Linked DNA regions of Homo sapiens: region 2 is linked to region 1. Evidence: promoter capture Hi-C in 16 types of primary human blood cells and fetal thymus (Javierre and others, 2016). All regions are on one chromosome and are shown on one strand. Each heading gives the region's core, a stretch centred on a gene start or on the middle of the fragment in contact. The rest is flanking DNA. Distances are from core to core; before and after follow the strand shown. Region 1 holds the start of EPC1 (enhancer of polycomb 1). Region 2 has its middle 140 kb from the start of KIF5B.

Evidence for each region. Contacts are between HindIII fragments. The CHiCAGO score rates a contact against its expected background, and 5 or more counts as called.
Region 2: a fragment that was not itself captured here is called in contact with the fragment with the promoter of EPC1 in region 1 in 1 of 17 cell types (total B cells); the score reaches 6.5 in total B cells.

The regions. Positions count from the first base shown.
Region 1 is chr10:32,343,974-32,349,398 of GRCh38, reverse strand. EPC1 (enhancer of polycomb 1) reads left to right here and starts at 2,241. Exons shown (of 14, transcript NM_001272004.3): 1 at 2,241-2,636. The coding sequence starts at 2,484. EPC1-AS1 (EPC1 antisense RNA 1) reads right to left here and starts at 2,035. Exons shown (of 2, transcript NR_104163.1): 1 at 1,924-2,035. RefSeq lists silencers at 1,651-1,780, 1,791-2,260, 2,931-3,210 and enhancers at 2,531-2,590, 2,611-2,710. The HindIII fragment of the contact is 3,163 bases long and covers 1-3,160 here.
Region 2 is chr10:32,191,885-32,197,309 of GRCh38, reverse strand. No RefSeq gene overlaps it. Among named protein-coding and RNA genes, the nearest start is that of KIF5B, 140 kb to the right of the region's middle. RefSeq lists a silencer at 958-1,151. The HindIII fragment of the contact is 1,314 bases long and covers 1,493-2,806 here.

The sequences.
Region 1 (5,425 bases), core at 992-3,491:
CTGTGAATTTGCCACGGAGGGTGATTTTAGACTCTCTAGAGAATAAGAAATTTTTTTGTACTCCACCCATTATTACTAATGTAGGATGTGGAAATAGTTATTTTGTTGTTTACTGTTATTTTAATGAGGGTAGAAATAATTCATTTCCTTGGTTCACTCTTGACTTACTCTATTTTGTTCTTAAAATCTTAGGCTCCTCAATTATGAATTCTACTGCTAGGACTTTCAGGAACCTAATGTTGTAGGCTGGAGAGGGCTGTCAGAATAATATTCAGCCAGTATTTTCGGAACTGTTAAACCTGGCTAAACAGGTGTCATTCCACAGTGAAGTTGGCAATTCTTGAGGCTCCCAGAAAGTGACTGCTATCTAATGACTCAGCTTGTGGATACGTCGCTACCGTTGTCTTAAGATACCTTTCTTCCCTTCATTTTTACTTTTTTTGCAAAGTTAACCCACACTTATCCTACATAATTTTACTCAGATATCATCTCTTCCAAAAAGTCTTCCCTTGCTACTTCATTAGAACTACTCTCCTGGGTTGGGCGCCACTCTTGCCCCTTCCCACAGTGGCCTGGGCTTCCACCATAACACTTAGCTCGCCGTGTGGCAGTTGCCATTCGCGGGTCCTTCTCCCCACTGTGTAAGCTCCTCCAGGAGCCCTGTGGGTGCCAAGCTGACTTGGAAGGCTATGAGGGCTCAATACACACCCTCAATACTCATTGAATGAATAAAGGCACGGTCTCTGTGTAGGAAATGCAGGTGAACGTCCTTATGCCTCACTTAAGTGAGCTGCCAATATCGGAGTTTAAGTATAATTTTGGAGAACTGCAATCCGTCCTGTTTTCTCCCTACCCCGCGGGAGCTGGCTAAACCAGCCTGGAGGCTAGCAGTTTGCCTGTGTGCCCTAAGCTAGTGACAGCTCATATCAAGCCCAGTATTTAAGGAGCGTGATTACTTTTACTACGTAGTTCCCAGGGAGAAAAGCAACTCAAAACATTTTTGTATCTTTTTGTATCTTGTTGCACAAGATACAAAATTGTGCACTAAGATACAAATTGAAACTCGAATTGAAATTTGGCTGCCAATTTATTAAACCCACCCCAACAATCTTCCCTATTAACAACAACAACAACGAAGAGATCTCAGGATACCCATTTTCATGTGTAATATAAACCGATGCCACCCATCTATCATATCCATCTAAATCTAATAATTCAGCTTTTTGTTTGGCGGGAGTACGACAGGTCTTTATATGATTCAATGTTACAAAGTTTTTCAGAGGACAAATGATGAAAGTGTGAACCCACGGCTATGATGAAGCCGCAGTCTCTTTGAGTACAGAATCATGAGCTAGATATAAAGAACTGGCTTTAAATTCTGAAGTAGATCTTGCTTTTAAATGTTATAGTGGTGGGTAATAATTTCCTTTGCTTCAGTTACTATTTAAAAAGTAAATATGTGTAGATGAAAATGCAGGATTTAAAAAAATCTACTTTGTAGAATAGGATACCTATCATTTATATTAAGCCCAATGCGTGGGAAACGGATCAATGACTTGATGCGGTGCCTATAAAACATTATAATCCAAAGTTGCATTAGGACATAAAAATAACTGCTGATAAAAGTTTACTCAAAGTAGCATCTGCCCCTAATTCAGTTTGTATTTTTATCGTAAAGACCTAAGGCGCCGCGGGAACTAGGCTGTGCGTTCGCCCCCCGCGGCAGACGGCGGCGCGCGGCGCCTCTGGAGCGCCCCTCCGAAGCCCCGTGGGGGCGGCCGTGGCCCCGGGGCAGCCGCTGGCGAGCACCCCAGAGGTCCGAGCCCTCCGAGCCCCAGGTGCCCGGGGCCCGAGCCCCGCCTGCCACTCTCCCCAGCTGCCTTTCCAAACGGCGGCGTGCTGGTGGAGAGAGTTTTCCCGCACCTTGTTCGCCCGTCAGAAAGCGGCGCCGGGAGGGAGCGAGCGTGAGAAAGTGAGCGTGTGCGCTGCAGGAGAGCACGACCCAAGAGCCGGCGCCCGGTGTCCGAGCGCCCAGTCCGCCCTGTCCGCCCCCGGACCCGCGAAGGGCGGGGGCCCGGAGCAGCGAGGCGCGGGAAGCGAGGCCGGCGGGTGCCGGGGGTTGGCGGGACGCGCGCTTCGTGCCGGCGCCGGCCTCGAGCCCGCGCTCCCTCCCCCCGCCCGCGTGCCCGCGCCGCTGCGCGATGCAGTGTGGGGAATGGCTGGGGTTGGCTGAAGAGCGCACAGTGGAGTTTTAATGTCCGCCATGTTGGCCATGGCGTATTGAAGAGAGCGAGCGAGAGAGGAGCGGAGCGGCACAGCCTCCCACCCTCCCGGCTGGTGTTAGTGCCCGGACGGCGGGCTCTGCGCTCCGCCCCTCAAGTCCCCGGCAGCGGTTGGCGAGTGGGGACCGAACCCCCGGTTCTCCATGATCCCGCTGGCCGGGGCCGTTTCCCCAGAGCGGAGAGGTATCTGCTGCGCCTGAGATGAGTAAACTGTCGTTTCGGGCGCGGGCGCTAGACGCCTCGAAGCCGCTGCCGGTTTTCCGCTGTGAGGATCTGCCCGACCTGCACGAATACGCCTCGATAAACAGGGCCGTGCCGCAGATGCCCACCGGAATGGAGAAGGAAGAGGAGTCGGTACGTGTTAACTCCCCTGTCCGACCCACCGTCAGGCCCGCTCCCTCTGCTGCCTGCGGCGGCGGCGGAGCAGCAAACCCACACAAAATGGCCGCCATCTTCTCTTCGCCGCCGACTCTCAGTCGCCGGCCGGGCCTATACCCCGCCTCCCCCAGCCTCGACCCCCGGCCGCCGCGGCCCAGCGGGGCCCCTTCTAAGGCCACCCGCTGACCCTGGCCACTTGTACCCGGGTCCCGCGGAGTTCGGGGGCCCGAAAGGCACAAAGGGGTCACGTGACGAAGCTGCCGGCAGCCATTTTGTGTCTTAGTTCTTGGGTTGGGCCTTGTGCATCCGGAGAGGGGAACGGGCTGGGTGGCTGTGGGGGTGCGGCGAGTCGGGAGCCGTGGAGGACCCGCCTACAGGCCTCTCCGTGGGCCGCTGGGTGGCGCTCCAGGGCCACTGCGGCCTGCGCGCCGCTGCCCGGGCCGGGAGCGCAGGTTCTGTGCACAGTCGGGGAATTTGATTGCCCCATGGTCTGGGAAGCTTGTTGGGCTCAGTGCAGCCCCCACGTGGAGCCTCAGACGGGCATGTCATGTCGCCTGCTGCTCTATGAGGCTTTTCTCCCCCTCTGCAAGGAAATGTCGAGGGTGCAGCGTGTTTGCCCGGACGACTTACTTTTCTAGAAGATAAGACTTACTTTCAGTGTCCTCTTTCTGGGACGTTTGTATCCATCCCTCTCCAGAGCTAGTTGGTCGGAGGATAATAAACCACTATCCCTGACTTTTTCTGTGATCCTTGCGAATATCTTGCAGATTTGTTTGGAGTACCTCTCTCTTCTGAAGCCTGTAACCTTACCTATTTGTAAAATAAATTTAAGTTCTCCTGCTCTCTGGTATCTCAACATAGGGGGAGAAAAGACCCAATTTAAGTAACTTTTATAGATCTAAATTTCGAAGGAGGATCCTTTCTTATTCAAAACCGAACTAAAACTAAGTGACTTGATTCACAGAAATCTTAATATTGAGATGTCTAAATTGGGTGGGTTTCAGCACGTAAATGTTGACAACTAATAGACATTTTACCATCGCTGTGGCTTTACCTTGTTGTGGAAGTTGGGTTCGGACACCAGGATAATAGAATCTTCCTCTCATTTCCCCCAGATCCTTGACAGTATAACTTGATGACTTCTAATCCTAAGGAATTGCATACCTTGGTTTTCAGGTACAGCCATTTAAACAGGGTGCAGTGTATTGACAGTTCAAGGAAGTCCAGGAGTCGCGTGGATTTGTGTGCTACAATTTTGTTGTGGAAAATTGTACTGTAATACTTCTCTTGGTACTGTAAGAATTTTTAATGTAGAAATTATGCTCTGTAATGTTGTTTTTGGAAATAAAACTGTTTAAACTCTTTGGGTTGTTTAACCTTTTAAAGTGAAATAGCTGTGACAGTGAAATGTTACTTTTGAGAGTAGTGTCTTAAATCTAACTTTACAGATAAGCCAAGTGTATGTAGTAGCTCAGATTGTCTAGTTGGGCACTGACTTTCAGCACATTGTCTCATGAGACACTACCTCTTAATTTATTTTACTTGTATCAACTTTAGAGTAGCATGGCCATTTGTTTATTTTTTAATAAGTGATTTGTTTTTAAAAATTAAAGTACTTGTGACTGCAGAATCTTGTCTTTTGGTTTTATTTTTATTTCTAAGTTTTACAGATAATACTTTCAAGTATTGGGGTGTTGGTTTTACCCTGCCCTGGAAATTAATTTGTAATTCTTGTTCAGCAGCCAAGGAAGGGGAAAGCCTTGATTAAAGCAAGACAGCACAACAGTACACTTTAGACTTTAGTTAAGTCTTGCTTCTGTGAATACTTTGGACAGTCCCAAGAGTTACAACCTGAAGTCAGAGCTGAGCTCAATGAAGTATCAGTGCTTGTTAAATTTTACGGGTAATTTTTATTCGCTGAAATAATTTAGATTTTTCTTCTTTTCTTTTCTGAGATGGAGTCTCACTCTGTTGCCCAGGCTGGAGTGCAGTGGCAGCATCTCGGCTCACTACAACCCTCCGCCTCCCGAGTTCAAGTGATTCTCCTTCCTCAGCCTCCCCAGTAGCTGGGATTATAGGCGCTTGCCACCGCGCCCGGCCGATTTTTATACTTTTAACAGAGACGGGGTTTTGCCATGTTGGCCAGACTGGTTTTGAACTCCTGACCTCAGGTGATCCGCCCGCCTCGACCTCCCAAAGTGCTGGGATTACAGGCATGAGCCACCGCGCCCGGCCAATTTTGACATTTTATACTGCAGTGGCTATCAATAGTTTGTAACATGTGGAGTCCCTAATTTTGAAACACAGGGATTTTTTTTTTTCTTCAGATTGCCTTTTCCAAATATCTGTTTAGAATTTTTCACTTCACATCCAACCAAAGCTATGTATGAGGAGAGAAGCATAGACCTCAAGAATAGACACTGAACCTAATGGAAGAATGTAAAAAGTACCTGGTAAACAAGCTGCTTTACAGTCCTGTGGTTCATGCTGTTAGTGGTAGGGTGTGTAAATCATAATATTGAAAGTAGTGTGTTATGCAGTGTTGAAAAGGTATATTAAACATAAAGGTAATTGAATTCTGGATTCTCCATAGAAAAACAAACTTTTTGATGTGCGGAAGTATTTTGTACTTCTAATAAAGAGGAAGGGTTAAAGCAAACTTCTGCCTTTAACTGACACATTAGTTATTTGTTATCTTATTAGGTCACTGTAACCTAGAACCTGAACTGACTGTCTTAGAAAAAAAAGTATGTAGTCCTATGTTG
Region 2 (5,425 bases), core at 900-3,399, 150 kb after region 1:
ACGGTGCGTGCCTGTAATCCCAGCTACTCAGGAGGCTGAGGCAGGAGAATTGCTTGAACGCAGGAGGTGGAGGTTGCAGTGAGCTGAGATTGCACTCCAGCCTGGGTGACAGAGTACTCAGTCCAAAATTTATGAAATGCAGTGAAAGCAGTGCTAAGAGGGAAATTTATAGCTATAAACAAACTAGTAAAGAAGAAAGATCTCAAATCAACAACCTAACTTTATGCCATAAGGAAGTTGAAAAAAAATAAAAACAAACTAAGCCCAAAGCCAGCAGAAGAAAGGAAATAATAAAGATTAGAGCAGAGTTAAACAAAACAGGAATCGAAAAATAATAGAGAAAGTCAACAAAATCAGGAGTTGGTTTTTTGAAAAGAATAAAAAAATGGACAAACTTGTAGCTAAACTGAGGAAGTAAAAAAGAAGGAAGACTCAACTAAAATCAGAAGTGAAAGAGGGGACATTATTACTAATTTTACAGAAATAAAAATTATTATAAGGGAGTACTATGCACAATTATGCACCAGCAAATTGGATAATCCAGATAAAATGGACAAATTCCTAAAAACATATACCCTACCAAGACTGAATTATGAAGAAATAGAAAATCTGAACAGACCTAGAACTATAAAGAAGACTAAATCAGCAATATAAAACCTCCCAACAATTCACTGAAAAAAATCTTCCAAACATTTAAAGAAAAATTAACACCAATCTTTCTCAAACTCTTTCAAAAAAATGGAAGAAGAGAGAATAATTTTTAACTCACCCTGCGAGGCCAGCATTATCATGATACCAAAGCTAGACAAAGACACTCCAAGAAAAGAAATCACTGGGATGCAAAAATCTGCAAGAAAATACTAGCAAATAGAATTCAACAGCCCATTTAAAGAATTATACATTATGACCAAGTGGAATTTATCCTTGAATGGAAGGATGGCTCAAATCACAAAAATCAATCCATGTATTAATAATACACCATAGGCCAGAAGCCGTGGCTCATGCCCATAATCCCAGTACTCTGGGAGGCTGAGGCGGGCAAATCACTTGAGGTCAGGAATTTGAGACCAGCCTGACCAACATGGTGAAACCTCGTCTCTACTAAAAATACAAAAATTAGCCAGGTGTGGTGCCACATTCCTGTAATCCCAGCTACTCGGGAGGCTGAGGCAGGAGAATCGCTTGAACCTGGTAGGCAGAGGTTGCAGTGAGCCACGATTGCTTGCCACTGCACTCCAGCCTGGGGGACAGAGCAAGACTCTGTCTCAAAATAATAATAATAATAATAATAATAATACACCATAAAAACAGATTGAAAAGGGAAACACGCATGATAATCTGTACTGATGCAGAAAAAACTCTTGACAAAATCCAACACCCTTTTATGATACAAAACACTGAACAAGTAGAAGGAAACTACCTCAACATAATAAAGGTCATATATGAAAAGCCCACAGCTAACATCATAGTCAATGGCTAAAGACTAAAAGCTTTTTCCCTGAGATCAGGAACAAGACAATTCTTTTTTTTTTTTTTTTTTTGAGACGGAGTCTTGCTCTGTCGCCCAGGCTGGAGTACAATGGCTCGATCTTGGCTCTTGGCTCACTGCAACCTCTGCCTCCCAGGTTCAAGTGATTTTCCTGCTTCAGCCTCCCTAGTAGCTGGGATTACAGACCCCTGCCACCATGCCCCACTAATTTTTGTATTTTTGTAGAGATGGGGTTTCATCATGTTGGCCAAGCTGATCTCGAACTCCTGACCTTAGGTGATCCACCTGCCTCGGCCTCCCAAAGTGCTGGGATTACAGGCATGAGCCACCGTGCTCGGCCAACAATTTCCACTCAACACAGTACTGGAGGGTCTAGGCAAAGCAATTACTCAAGAAAAACAAGTAAATGGCATCCATATTTGAAAGGAAGAAAAACATTATTTCTGTTCACAGATAATAAGACTTTACATTTAGAAAACCCTACATATAGGCCGGGCACGGTGGCTTACACCTATAATCCTAGCACTTTGGGAGGCCGAGGCGGGCAGATCACCTGAGGTCAGGAGTTCGAGACCAGCCTGACCAACATGGAGAAACCCTGTCTCTACTAAAAATACAAAATTAGCCGGGCGTGGTGGCTCATGCCTGTAATCCCAGCTACTCGGGAGGCTGAGGTGGGAGAATTGCTTGAACCTGGGAGGTGGAGGTTGCAGTGAGCTGAGATCGCGCCATTGCACTCCACCCTGGGCAACAAGAGCGAAACTCAAAAAAAAAAAAAAAAAGAAAACCCTAAATATTTCTGAAAATTATTAGAACTGATACATGAATGTAGCAAAGTTGCAGGATAAAAAATCAACATGCAAAGTCAGTTACATTTCTATATGCCAAGAATTAACAATCTGATAAGATAAATTTTAAAAACTATTTTATTTATTTATTTTTATTTTATTTATTTATTTATTTTTTTGAGACAGAGTCTCGCTCTGTTGCCAGGCTGGAATGCGGTAGCGCGATCTCAGCTCACTGCAACCTCCGCCTCCTGGGTTCAAGTGATTCTCCTGCCTCAGCCTCCAGAGTAGCTGGGATTACAGGCACGTGCCACCACGCCCAGCTAATTTTTGTATTTTTAGTAGAGACGGGGTTTCACCATGTTGGCCAGGATGGCCTTGATCTCTTGACCTCATGATCCACTTGCCTCAGCCTCCCAAAGTTTACAGGCTGTAATCCCAAAGGGATTACAGGTGTGAGCCACTGCACCTGGCCAAAACTATTTTATTTATAATAGTATCGAAGAGAATAAAATGCTTAGAATAAGCTTAATCAAGGAGACGAAAGACTTGTACAATAAAAACTATAAAACATTGGTGAATAAAATTAGGGCACAAATAAATAGAAAAAGGTCTCATGTCCATAGAATGTATGACTTACTGTTGTTAAGATGTTTATACTATGCAAAGCAATCCACAGGTTCAAATCCTATCCAAATCCCAATGATATTTTTTGCAGAAATAGAAAAATCCATACTAAAATTATAATTAATATGAAATCTCAAGGGACCCCAAATAGCCAAAACAGTCTTTTCCTTTTTTTGAGATGAAGTCTCACTCTGTCACCCAGGCTGGAGTGCAGTGGCACCATCTGGGCTCATTGCAACCTCCGCCTCCCAGTTTCAAGCAATTGCCCTGCCTCGGCCTCCTGAGTAGCTGAGATTACAGGTGTACACCACCATGCCCAGCTAATTTTTGTATTTTTAGTAGAGATGGGGTTTCACCATGTTGGGCAGGCTGGTCTCAAACTCCTGACCTCGTGATCCGCCTGCCTCGGCCTTCCAAAGTGCTGGGATTACAGGTGTGAGCCACCGCACCTGGCTGAAAACAATCTTAAAAAAGAACAAAGCTGGAGGACTCGCCCCCTCCTGATTTCAACAAAGCTACAATAATCAAAACAGTGTGGTACTGGCATTAAAAAAAAGACATATAGACCAATGGAATGGGGTAGACAGCCCCAAAATAAACCATTGCATATATGGTCAAATGATTTTCAACAAGGATGACAAGACCATTCAATGGAGAAAGGACAGTCTTTTCAAAAATTGATGTTGGGAAAACTGGATATCCACATACAAAAAAAATGAAGTAGGACTCATATACAAAATTAACTCAAAATAGATCAAAAACATAAATATAAGACCTAAAACTATAAAACTCTTAGAAGAAAACATACAAGAAAATCTTCATGACATAAGATCTGGCAGTGACTTTTTGGATATAACACCAACACACAGACAACAATAAAAAAGACATAAATTGGATTACATCAAAATTAAAAACTTATTTGAATCAAAGGACACTATCAACAGAGTGAAAAGCCAAAAACCCATGGAATGGGATAAAGCATTTGCAAATCATATATCTAATAAGGAGTTAATAGCTAGAATATATAAAGAACTCTCACAACTCAACAACAAAACAACCCAATTTAAAAATTGGCAAAGAACTTCAAAGAAGATACACAAATGGCCAATAAGCACATGAAAAGATGCTCAGTATTGCTAATCATTAGGGAAATCCAAAGCGAAACCACCTCATGAGATACCACCTCATACATATTAGAATGGCTGCTCTCAAAAACAAACAAACAAACAAAAATCACAAACACAAAAAGCAAAAAATAACAAGTGTTGGCAAGAAATGGTGAATGTGGAACCCTCCTACACTGCTGGTAAAAATGTAAAGTGGTGCGGCCACTGTGGAAAATCGCATGACGGCTCCTCAAAAAATTGAAAATAGAACTACCACATTATCTGGCAGTTTTCTTTCTGAGTATACACCCAAAATAATCAAAAGTAGGGCCTTGGAGAGATATTTGTATACCTATATTCATAGCACCATTATTCACAATAACCAAAAGGTAGAAGCAACCCAAATGTCCATTGATGGATGAGTAGATAAACAAATTGTGATATATACCTACCATGGAATATTATTCAGCCTTAAAAAGGAAGTACATTCTGACACATACTACAATGTGGATGAAATTTGAGGACATTATCCTATGTGAAATAAGCTACAGGACTAAGTGAAATAAGCTAGTCACAAAATACTGTATGATTCCACATATATGAGGTCCCTGGAGTAGACAAAGTCATAGAGACAGAAAGCAGAATGGTGATTTCCAGAGCCTGGGAAACTGAGGGAATCGAGCTGTTGTTTAATGGGTACAGAGTTTTAGTTTGGGAAGATGAAAATGTCTGGTGATGGACGGCAATGATGGTTGTACAACAATGTGAATGTACCTTAATGCCGCTTAAAATGGCTAAAATGGTAAGTTTTATGTTCATTATATTTTACCATAATTAAAAAAAAATACTGTATTGGGAAAAATAATAGAATAGCAAGTTTTCTATTAAAATTGCCTTTAATTACCAAAAAATTAGTAAGATTTAATGTAGGGTTTTTTGCAGATACCCATTACCAAATTAAAGTTTGTTTTTAAATTTAATTTTATTATTATTTCACTCTGTTGATAGTGTCCTTTGATTCAAAGATGTTTTTAATTTTTAATTTTATTATTAATAAATTTATTATTATTATTTTTTGAGACCAGTCACCCAAGCTGGAGTGTAGTGGTGCAATCTCGGCTCACTGCAACTTCCACCTGCTTGGTTCAAGCCATTCTCCCACCTCAGACTCCTGAGTATCTGGGATTATAGGTGTGCACCACCACACTCAGCTAATTTTTTGTATTTTTGGTAGAGATGGGGTTTTGCCATGTTGGCCAGGCTGGTCTCGAACTCCTGACCTCAGGTGATCCACCTGCCTTGGTCTCCCAAAGTGCTGGGATTATAGGCATGAGCCACTGCCCCCAGCCAGAAGTTTCCGTCTATTCACAGTTTGCAATGAGTTTTTACTTTGAATGAGTATTGAATTTTGGTGG